Regions from separate parts of the Homo sapiens genome. Here regions 1, 2 and 3 are each linked to region 4. The links are contacts of gene promoters, found by promoter capture Hi-C in blood cells and fetal thymus (Javierre and others, 2016). All regions are on one chromosome and are shown on one strand. Each heading gives the region's core, a stretch centred on a gene start or on the middle of the fragment in contact. The rest is flanking DNA. Distances are from core to core; before and after follow the strand shown. Region 1 has its middle 33 kb from the start of ITLN2. Region 2 has its middle 30 kb from the start of ITLN1. Region 3 overlaps LOC101928372 (a long non-coding RNA gene). Region 4 holds the start of VANGL2 (VANGL planar cell polarity protein 2).

The links. The method cuts DNA at HindIII sites, captures the fragments that hold promoters and counts their contacts. A CHiCAGO score of 5 or more calls a contact.
Region 1: a fragment that was not itself captured here is called in contact with the fragment with the promoter of VANGL2 in region 4 in 2 of 17 cell types (non-activated CD4 T cells and total CD4 T cells); the score reaches 8.1 in non-activated CD4 T cells.
Region 2: a contact is called between a fragment that was not itself captured here and the fragment with the promoter of VANGL2 in region 4, in 1 of 17 cell types (non-activated CD4 T cells). The highest score is 5.6, in non-activated CD4 T cells.
Region 3: a contact is called between a fragment that was not itself captured here and the fragment with the promoter of VANGL2 in region 4, in 1 of 17 cell types (non-activated CD4 T cells). The highest score is 5.2, in non-activated CD4 T cells.

What each region holds. Positions count from the first base shown.
Region 1 is chr1:160,986,092-160,988,791 of GRCh38, forward strand. No RefSeq gene overlaps it. Among named protein-coding and RNA genes, the nearest start is that of ITLN2, 33 kb to the left of the region's middle. RefSeq lists a silencer at 1,308-1,602. The HindIII fragment of the contact is 816 bases long and covers 854-1,669 here.
Region 2 is chr1:160,913,493-160,916,192 of GRCh38, forward strand. No RefSeq gene overlaps it. Among named protein-coding and RNA genes, the nearest start is that of ITLN1, 30 kb to the left of the region's middle. RefSeq lists an enhancer at 1-559. The HindIII fragment of the contact is 4,529 bases long and covers 1-2,700 here.
Region 3 is chr1:160,942,456-160,945,155 of GRCh38, forward strand. LOC101928372 (a long non-coding RNA gene) reads left to right here. Exons shown (of 6, transcript NR_110695.1): 4 at 2,403-2,503; 5 at 2,611-2,700. It overlaps ITLN2 (intelectin 2), which reads right to left. Exons shown (of 8, transcript NM_080878.3): 8 at 2,570-2,700. The coding sequence ends at 2,685. Among named protein-coding and RNA genes, the nearest start is that of ITLN2, 11 kb to the right of the region's middle. The HindIII fragment of the contact is 4,320 bases long and covers 1-2,700 here.
Region 4 is chr1:160,399,128-160,401,827 of GRCh38, forward strand. VANGL2 (VANGL planar cell polarity protein 2) reads left to right here and starts at 1,437. Exons shown (of 8, transcript NM_020335.3): 1 at 1,437-1,742. The region is part of intron 3 of LOC105371466 (a long non-coding RNA gene); the gene reads right to left. The HindIII fragment of the contact is 3,661 bases long and covers 1-2,700 here.

The DNA.
Region 1 (2,700 bases), core at 12-2,511, 590 kb after region 4:
AAAAAGTTTCATACTTGCACGTGTTTTCTTGTGGCAAAAATATAAAACATTTAATTTCTGGGATTCTTTTTTTTTTTTTTTTTTTTTTGAGATGTAATCTCACTCTGTTGCCCAAGCTGGAATGCAATGGCGAGGACTCAGCTCACTGCAAACTCCGCCTCCCAGATTCAAGCAATTCTCCTGCCTCACCCTCCAGAGTAGCTGGGATTACAGGCGCCCACCACCACGCCTGGCTAATTTTTGTATTTTTAGTAGAGACAGGGTTTCACCATATTGGCCAGGCTGGTCTCGAACTCCTGACCTTGTGATTTGCCTGTCTCGGCCTCCCAAAGTGCTGGAATTGCAGGGTGAGCCACCACGCCTGGCTGGGATCATCTTTTTTTCTACAGAGAGAAAATCAATTGTATCTCTACCAGGCAAACAATTTGCATTTGTATTAATATGAACAGGGATCATTTGTATCACTGTCAGGCTTCTACATATTTAACTTTTCTTTCTAGAGTTGCAAAACAGTACAAGACAAGGAAGGATACTGACCTGTAGAGAATCAGAAAACCCCCAGAAGCATCCTGTCCTCTAGTCTAGACAAATCCTAGTAATCCACTGGAAGGATGCCTGTATTTGTCCATTTCAGAAACTGTCACAATTTTTCCTTAACTAACAGCAGGAATTTTGATAGCCAAAAGTCATATTGTTTATTATCACTGTGGGAGCCAAGGCCTTTGGCTCCCTGAAGTTTGCTGAAAATCACTGACGCAAGGCAGATTAATAGGAAAAAAGGCATACAAACTTATTTAATATGTATACATAGAAGCCTTCAGAATGAAGACCCAACCTCCCAGTGAGGTGCAAAAGCTTATACGCCATCATGAGGTTACAGAAAGAATGAGTTTGGATCCTGCGGGAGAAAAGGAATTCTGTTGATGGGCAATAAATGATTACTAAAGAGAATGATTTGATCAGGAAACAAATTAACTTGTAAATAGTTTTCTTTGGAATTTAGATGACCATGAGAAGCAGGCATTAACTCATGAAAAGGTCTGTTCAGGTGTGGTTACATTTTTGGTCTTACAGGAGGAAAAGAAACCTACTGTTCTCCTTGGAGGGTCTGGATCTTAGGCAAATAAAGGAACTTCAGCTTTTTGGGAGAGACCGTGTGGAGCGGGGAAGGTCAGAGAGATCTTCAGGTTGCTTCTTCGGTTCAGTACTATATTTGGGGGTATCGATTTATAAACCCCAACATTACCTAATGTATTGTTCCCGATGAGCCTCCCTCCAATCCCTTTTCCCCTGTATCCCAATGGCCGGAAACTTGTGGAAATTCTTCCCAAGGCCTCTAAAAGCAGCACTTGCTTTTGCCTGGTTGCTAATGCAAGTTGTGAATTGCGCACGTGAATCACTATCACTGTCCATCCACCACTCTCTTGCTCTAAGGCATTGAAACGGCACTGCAGAGAGACGCCAGGTAACAAAGACTCTCCTTAACCAAGCTCTAGCATGGCTTCTAGCAACTTAAGGCCTTGTCCCTAGGAGGACCTCAGCCCCCCGCTTAAAATGCCTGCCTGAAAAAGCTCATCGCTGTCAGAAAAATTTACTGTGCATCCCAGCCCAAACCTAGCAATAGACACAGGCCCCTGAACTTCATCTTAGTGCAATTACTTAGAAAGAAAGCTTGCAATTAAAACATCTTTCTCTGCCTCTTTGAGATGTAAATCTTCTACCCAGAGCTATTTTCACTGGGACCTGAGAGTTTCTTTGAAATGCAAACATTTGAGGAAATAAATCTTGCTCCAGCTCCCAACCAGGTGGGTGCCTTGCTCTAACTTGCACTACTAGCTCCTGTCGTAAAAATAGGTGCTTATTTCTCTTCTGGACAAGAGCCAATTCACAAATCCAGATTGTCTAGTCACATGGAGCAATTCTCCTTAATATCTTCATGCCTATCCCTTAGCACATCCCAGCCTTCAAAAGGCCTCCTGCATTTTTTTTTTTTTTAAGGAAGTTAAGTTCAGTTCACCTTGGGCCCTCTTCCCTACTGCAATAGTTACTACTTAAAAAAACCTATCCTAGGCCGGGTGCAGTGGCTCACGCCTGTAATCCCAACACTTTGGGAGGCCGAGGTGGGCAGATCACCTGGGGTCAAAAGTTCAAAACCAGCCTGACCAACATGGAGAAACGCTGTCTCCACTAAAAATACAAAAAAATTAGCCGGGCGTGGTGGTGCATGCCTGTAATCCCAGCTATTCAGGAGGCTGAGGCAGGAGAATCGCTTGAACCCCGGACACGGAGGTTGCGGTGAGCCAAGATCGCGCCATTACCCTCCAGCCTGGGCGACAAGAGTGAAACTCCATCTCAAATAAATAAATAAATACCTATCCTTACTTCTTGTCTAAACTATTGTCTGGCTTTGTTTAGCTTTGACACAGGCTTTATAAGCCCACAAGTAACTTTAAGGCAAAGCCTTATAAATTCATCCAAGGCACTGACATTGAAGAATGTCTAACATTTCTGTGATATGCTTCAATCTCACTTCCAGCCTGTTCCAAACCTTCTTTTTAGTTTTCTACTTCCAGAGACTTTTTCCTTTGGTTAATCACCTTGTAATTCTTAGGTCTGATTCTCGAGCTAGCACATTTCAGCCCCTACAAATAAATGCCTTCTCCCAAAATGTGCAGCTCTTTTGCCATGCTACATTCTATT
Region 2 (2,700 bases), core at 63-2,562, 510 kb after region 4:
CAAAGTTTCTCCCCATGTGATAGTCTGAAATATGGCCTCGTAAGAAAGGAAAGACCTGACCGTCCCCCTGCCTGACACCCGTAAAGGGTCTGTGCTGAGGAGGATTAGTAAAAGAGGAAAGAACGCCTCTTTGCAGTTGAGACAAGAGGAAGGCATCTGTCTCCTGCCTGTCCCTAGGCAATGGAATGTCTTGGTGTAAAACCCGATTGTATATTCCATCTACTAAGATAAAGGAAAACCACCTTAAGGCTGGAGGTAGGACAGCAGGCAGCAATACTGCTCTTTAAGGCATTGAGATGTTTATGTGTATACATATCTAAAGCACAGCACTTAATTCTTTACCTTCTCTATGATGCAGAGACCTTGTTCACGTGTTTATCTGCTGACCTGCTCTCCACTATTATCCTATGACCCTGCCACATCCCCCTCTCCGAGAAACACCCAAGAATGATGAATAAATACTAAAGGAACTCAGAAGCTGGCAGAATCCTCCGTAATGCTGAATACCAGTCCCCTAGGCCCCCTTTTTCCTTTCTCTATACTTTGTCTCTGTGTCTCTTTCTTTTCAAAGTCCCTCGTTCCACCTAATGAGAAACACCCACAGGTGTGGAGAGGCAACCCGCCCCATCATGAGCCACTGTGCCCAGCCTGAATTAAATTTTTTAAAGTTTAATTGAGCAATGAACAGTTCCCGAAACTGGCAGCCTCCCAAGCCAGAGTAGGTTCAGAGACTCCAGCGCAGCTACGTGGTGGAAGATTTACTGATGGAAAAGGAAAGTGACATACAGAAAATGGAATTGAGGTACAGAAACAGCTGCATTGGTTATAGCTTGGCGTTTGCCTTATTTGAACACAGTTTGAACATTTAGCCACATTTGATGGTCAAAATTTGGTGACTGGCACAAGAGTAGACCACAGTTTGTTCACATTTCCACTTAGGCTATAGTTCATGATGAAACCTTTAAGCCGAACTGAAAATATGTAACGAAGCCGCTTTAGGCTAAACTTGATTTAACAAATTCCCCCTTTTGGTCATCCTCTCAATTTTGAGAGATTTACTGAAACTTTAGTCATTGATGTCACAATCACCGTCATAAAAGTACTTATTTGGTCTTGAAACCCACTGGGAAATGGTAGAACAGTGGGTTTTTGCAAGGTGAGAACAAGGACTTTGGGTTGTTTTTTTAAGGGTAGAGGGTACTTCCTTATGCTGGGACGTCCTGTTTACAGGAGAAAAAACAAAACCTGGTCTGTTCTAGGATCTATGTGCTTCCTTAAAATCTTAATTTGATTATGTCACATTTAGAACAAGTGACTCCATTTTGGTTTGGTCTGGTCTGTTTGGGCCTAGTGCATGAGCTCAGTCCAAAACAATGGCCTTCCATAATTTGGTTTACAAATTTCCCCATTTGGTCCTCACTTAGGTGAGATGGTGACCAAAACTTAGTGTAACTCTCAGTTGCCATCATTTTGGATTCCAGTATCAGCATGTCATTCACAGGTTACAGTGCCCTCATGGTCACACATTTCTTTTCTTTTTTTTTTTTTTTTTTTAGACAGGGTCTTACTCTGTCACCTAGGCTGGAGTGCAGTGGAGCGATCTCGGCTCATTTCAACCTCCACCTCCTGGGCTCAAGTGATCCTCCCACTTTTGCCTCCTGAGTAGCTGGGACTACAGATGTGCACCACCACACCCAGCTAATTTTTGTACTTTTTGTAGAGATGGGGTTTCGCCATGTTGCCCAGGCTGGTCTCAAACTCCTGGACTCAAGGCATCTGCCTGCCTTGGCCTCCAAAAGTGCTGGGATTACAAGTATGAGCCACCATGCCTGGCCTATGGTCACACATTTCTTTCAGCCCTTGTCATTCCAGTTGAAGCAAGACCATTTGACATTTTAGTGATGGCTGCATGCAAACATTTAAAACTTTTGAGAGAATACAGTGCACCAAGGAGACTACTATTATGACAATCATGAGGATAATACCAAGAGTTTGGCATATATTCTTTACTCAGGGTCCCCATAAACCAACTCCTAAAATCAAATAGGTTAAAAAAAAATGAGCTAGATATACAGTCTACTTGCTTAACTAAGCAGTCTCTTCATTAATCCCTTACAACTGAATCGCTGTCATACCCAAGACAAGATATTTCTCATTAGGCTACAAAGTGTCAGCAGTTGCACAGGTATTTCTCTGTTTAGCCAGTAAGTAATCTAAAGCAATTCTATTATTTAGCATAACTTTCACAAATAATTTAAAGTCTGTTGTATAATCATATCTATTACAGTAGAATCTGCTGTAGAGCCTATCATGAGGGATACATTTCTAATCAATGCCTCTTTTACTCCAAACCATGGAAAAATGGACCTAACGAATGATGCCCTTCTAGAAGAGTGAAGACCTCCTGGCAATGTTCTCTTTAACCCATCATGTAAGTTAAGAGGGGTGAACCAATGTTCTGTTTCTGAATGATTATGAAGTAACATATGTACCATTAAAATTTCTCACCTACATTGAGCCTTCATCTCCCATCTATCAAGGTATAATATCATCCATGTATAAGGCTCACTACAAAATCCTTCACAGATAAAAGTATACTAACAGATCCTCTTTTTTTTGTTGGGGGGGGGACAGAGTCTTGCTCTGTCACCATTCCAGACTGGAACCCAATGGCATGATCTCAGCTCGCTACAACCTCTG
Region 3 (2,700 bases), core at 19-2,518, 540 kb after region 4:
GGTTTCACCAGTTGGCCAGGCTGGTCTCGAACTCCTGACCTCAGGTGATCCGCTCCCCTTGGCCTCCCAAAGTACTGGGATTACAGGCGTGAGCCACCATGCCTGGCCTTAAATCTCTTTTTTTAAATGCTCTTGGGCTTGGCACGGTGGCTCAGCCCTGTAATCCCAGCACTTTGGGAGGCTGAGGCAGGCAAATCACGAGGTCAGGAGATCAAGACCATCCTGGCTAACACAGTGAAACCCTGTCTCTACCAAAAATACAAAAAATTAGCCGGGCATGGTCGTGGGTGCCTGTAGTCCCAGCTACTTGGGAGGCTGAGGCAGGGGAATGGCATGAACCTGGGAGGCAGAGGTTGCAGTGAGCCAAGATCTTGCCACTGTACTCCAGCCTGAGCGACAGAGCAAGACTCCATCTCAAAAAAAAAAAAAAAAAGTTCTTTATTGCCTTCAGCTGTCAGGGCTTCATGACTTCCATTCTATAGAATTTAAACAAAATCCTCTGTTTCTCAATGGCAGCACAGCTGGCATTTGAGATCAGACCATTCTTTGTCATGGAGCAGGGATGTCCTGTGCAGTGTAAGGTGTTTCACAGCATCTCCAGCCTCTATTCACTAGATGTCAGTAGCGCTCCTGCCAGGCCTTCCACCACCACTCATTGCGGTGTCTCCAGACATTGCCAAATGTTCCCTAGATGTAGGGTTGCCAGGTAAAATATTGCATGGGACAAACATACTAAAAATATTATCGATTGTTTATCTGAAATGCAAATTTAAGTTGGCCTTCCATATCTTTATTTGCTAAATCTGGCAACCCTATCTGAGAGGTGAAAAACCCTATCTGAGAGGTAAAATCACCACTACATCTCCTACCTCCCATCCCATTTGAAAACCAATGCTCTAGTCCACAGGGAGCAATGGAGAAAAAGTGTGGTAATGGGTTTGGGAAATGTTATGATTAGATTTGCATTTGGAGCAAAGCACTTTTTGTTTGTTTGTTTTGTGTTGTGTTGTTTTGTTTGAGACGCAGTCTCACTCTGTTGCCCAGGCTGGAGTGCAGTGGCACGATCTCAGCTCACTGCAACCTCCGCCTCTGGGGTTCAAGTGATTCTCCTACCTCAGCCTCCCGAGTAGCTGGGATGACAGGCACCCACCACCACACCCAGCTAATTTTTGTATTTTTAGTACAGACGGGGTTTCACCATGTTGGCCAGGATGTTCTCGATCTCTTGACCTCGTGATCCACCCGCCTCGACCTCCCAAAGTGCTGGGATTACAGGCATGAGCCACCGCACCCAGCCTGGAGCAAAAAAACTATAAGACGTCCAAGCCCTCTTCACCAGCCAGGACTGCTGTAGTCAACATCCTGTTTGAGACCTGATTGGAATGCCTGGCTCTCTTTTTTTTTTTTTTTTTTTTTGAGATGTAGTCTCGCTCTGTCACCCAGGCTGGAGTGCAGTGGTGCAATCTTGGCTCACTGCAACCCCCACCTACTGGGTTCAAGCGATTCTCCTGCCTCAGCCTCCTGAGTACCTGGGACTACAGGTGCACACCACCACACCTGGCTAATTTTTGTATTTGTAGTAGAGATGGAGTTTCACCATATTGGCTAGTCTGGTCTCAAACTCCTGACCTTGTGATTCGCCTGCCTCGGCCTCCCAAAGTGCTGGGATTACAGGTGTGAGCCACCACACCTGGCCATCTCTCCTTTTTAGTAAGCAACTAGAGTTGGGATTCCAGATGTGGCCAGGCACATGCACCTCTGGAGAGACTACCCTGTCTGCTAAAGCTGGAAGAATAAAAGAAATGGGTGATTGTGCTATCTCCTGTTTCTCTTCTTTAATATGTTTATATTGAAGGCTTAATTTAATTAGCTAATAAAGGTGCATTAGGAAGAACTAACATGAAATATTTTCTCTTGTCCTTAAATCCAGTTCAGGGATCTCCTAAAAACAGGAACATACTTGTGTTCTGGGACAGATGAGACTTGAAATTCCAAACCCAGAATGTCTTTGTCTTTATTTTTCTTTTCTTTTCTTTTTTTTTTTTTTTTTTTGGGTAAAGTTTTGCTCTGTCACCCAGGGTGGAGTACAATGGCGAGATCTTGGCTCACTGCAACCTCTGCCTCCCTGGCTCAAGCCAACCTTCCACCTCAGCCTCCTGAGGAGCTGGGACTACAGGCACGCATTACTTCCTAGCTAATTTTTGTACTTCTTGTAAAGATGAAGTTTTGCCATGTTGCCCAAGCTGGTCTCAAACTCCTGACCTCAGGCAATCCACCTGCCTCGGCCTCCCAAAGTGCTGGGATTACAGGCATGAGCCACCATCCCTGGCCCAGAATGTCTTTTTATTTTTCAATTTTTTTATATCTTTTTGCTAATCTTCTCTGTATTGTTCCAATTTTAGTATATGTGTTGCTGAAGTGAACATTTATTTTTATTCAATGGGTTCTTCCTAGCCACTGTGCAAGCCCAGAATATGTGAGGTGGAATTCACCAGAACCATAGGTATTCTTTTAAAATATCCCTCAACACATCAGCCAATTTATAAAAAGAATTCAAAGAAACATAGAGTTGCAAATTGATGTGATTTAGTCTCCTCTCCTCCTTGTTAGAATTCCAGTTTTTCCGTCTCCAAATAGCCGGGGTTGGAAGATGGGTTCTCGCCCTGACACCGCAGAGCTCTGTCTCATCTATAGAACAAG
Region 4 (2,700 bases), core at 187-2,686:
GGATGAGGAAAGACAGAGTTTGGGCAAAGGAGAAAGGAAGTGTGTTTTACTGTTCTGCATCTTTGAACAATGCAGCATAGTTGGTTCTGTCCTCATCTTTGGACAGGTTAGAATGAACCATCAAAAGGGGTGAGATTAGGTCTCAGGAAATAGTTTTCATCAGGGAGGAGCAAAAATTCCCAAACAAGTGAGGAACAGAGGCTGGGAGTCTCTTTCTCTGGGATTCCTTAATCACAGGGTTGTTCAAGCAGGTGCCAGGATTGGAAACTGAAGGAGGCTGAGATATTGAAAAGGCCTTGGCCTGCTTAGGGAGAAGTATGTGAAGATGCTTTTGAAATGATACTACTCTAAGTGGCGGGTTGCACGGCAATAACATTAATGATAATTGAATACTGCTTTCACTTACTCCAAGGGGAACATGGACTTCCCACAGCCCAGGCTTTTACGGTGTGGGTTCACTCTTGTAGGGTCACATGTAAAAGAACCCTAACTGGTTTCTTGGCATACTGGGAGGCACAAATGCCCCAAACGTGTAGGATATTTTGTGAGATCCTACAATCCCTGTGTGGCACCTTCAACTCTAAAGTATCTGAAACTCCTGGGATGGACAATCTGCCTGCTTGGGGTTGGGGACCCAACTGGCCAAGGCATTTTTCCTCTTGGAGGTTTCCTGGGAGAAGGCCCCCTCTCCTCTGCCATTCAAACTCCCAGGCGCCCGCGTCTTTTCCTCCTCCCCTTCTTCCCTAAGGCAGGGTTCCCTTTGTAATTAATCCCAACACTCAAACCAGAGGGGAGGAAAAATGTGTTAATGAGGGAGCGTCCCAGACTGACTGGGGCGGTCGCTGCTCGCAGCTAGAACTCCAAGTAATTAAATTATTTTTGGAAGGAGGGGATATGGTGGTGATGGTGTCAGGGAAATCCCCGTATGCATGGGAAGAGGCGTGCGCCTCTCGCCACTAATTAAAATCAGGGATGACCCTCCCTTCTCGGACCCCTAGGGGGAAAAAAAAAATCAATCTTCCCACGTCCCAGATTCCATTGGATTTTGTGTAGTCGGGTCCGTGGCCCTAAAGAGAATATGGCCAGCCCCAGGGATCTGGGGGCTCCTTCTCCGACAGGAGGGGTCCAGGAAGACAGCCCCAGGAGGGACTGCGGGCTGGGCCAAGTCCAAGAATCGAGGCATTCCCCTGCCCACCGTTCGGGACCCGAGTGTCAGCCCCACCGCGGATTCCCAGGATCGGGGAGGGCCGCTGGGCATCTGAAGGCGCAGGGCTGGGGGAGCGGCGACTCCGGGAAGAGCGGGGCCGCAGACAATGGACGCGGCGGTAGGAGGGGCGGCGGCTGTGGGAACAGCCGGGAGGCGGCACCCGGGAGCTCGCGCTCCCCCGCCCCCTGCACCCCCCACCCTCATCCCCTCCCCCTCCGCCCCCTCCCCCCTGCGCCGCCGGCTCCCGATCTGATTCCTGATCCTTGATTCCTTGATCCTTGGTCCCGCCATGGGAGCCTGAGCGCCCCCTATTCCCCCCTGGCCCCCAGCCCCCGGGGCCTTGAGGGGGAAGAGGCAGCGGTCTGGGACGGAGCAGGGGGTGACCAGACTCAAGAACCCCCCCCTCAACATCCCCCATCGCGCGCGCTGCCTGTCCAGGAGCGCCGAGTTCGGAGCGACCCGGAGCGCTGCGGATACAAAGGCGACGGGCCGAGCGGGGCGCCCGCGGAGCCCACCCGGCAGTTCGCAGCGGCGGGTGAGTGCCGGGCCGCGGGGGCGCGGGCAAAGTTTGAAAAAAAAAGAAGAAAGAAAGAGAGAGAAAAAAAGAAATGGAAAAGGAGGAAAATCATGCAAGGGGCCAGGGGGTGCCCGACCCCAGAGCGAGCGGGGTGGCTTATGGGGGAAGGGGGGCTGGACTCCGGGCAACCCCCTTCCGGTCCGCTTCCCCACTGCACAGCGGAGTACCCCCCCCAACTTTGGGGAGGGGAAGGGGCTCGTGGGGAGGGGGCGGAGCCCAGGCCTGGAGAGCCGGGGACTTTCCTGGGCCCGGGCGGGGGCCTTAATGATCCCAGGGGAGCCGGTTGAAGCCGGAGACGGGGAGCTTGTGTTGGAGGTGGGGGGAGAGGCGTGGAAGGATCGGAGTCTGGAGGTATTGGAAGCCAAGGGTGTTTTGGGGTGCATACACCCCTCAGGAGCGTGGGGAGGGACGGAGGCAGGTATGCGTTAAGGGTGTAGAGTGGAGTCAGGGGGGCGGGTTGGGCAGAGTAGATAGGGTGTATGTACAGACCGAGGATGGGGCTGGAGGCGGTAGACTGTGTATAGGGGCCGAGGGGACAGGCGCTGGCATCCCTCTCCCCACTCATATTTACCCATCTGGGGGACTGTGGGCTCTGCGTTAGTGAGTTTTGAAGGGTTGGTGGAGGATCCGTGTGCATGATTCTTTGTTTTGGTGTGTGTGCACGCCTTGACGTGCTGCATGTTCCTGCAGGTGGGCCCCTGGTTTGGATGTGTAGGTGTTTTTCTGTGCTTGAGTGTGTGTGCACCCAGGGAGCGGCTGACCATGCATCTGCTGTGTGTTTGGATATGTGTTTATATGTATACTTAGGGGAGGGCGTGTATGTCTATGTGTGTGTACTGGGAGAGGGGTTCACGGGAAAGAGGTGTGTAGGTACTGAGGAAGGTGGGTGTGTAAGAGCAGAATGGAGTGTATGTGG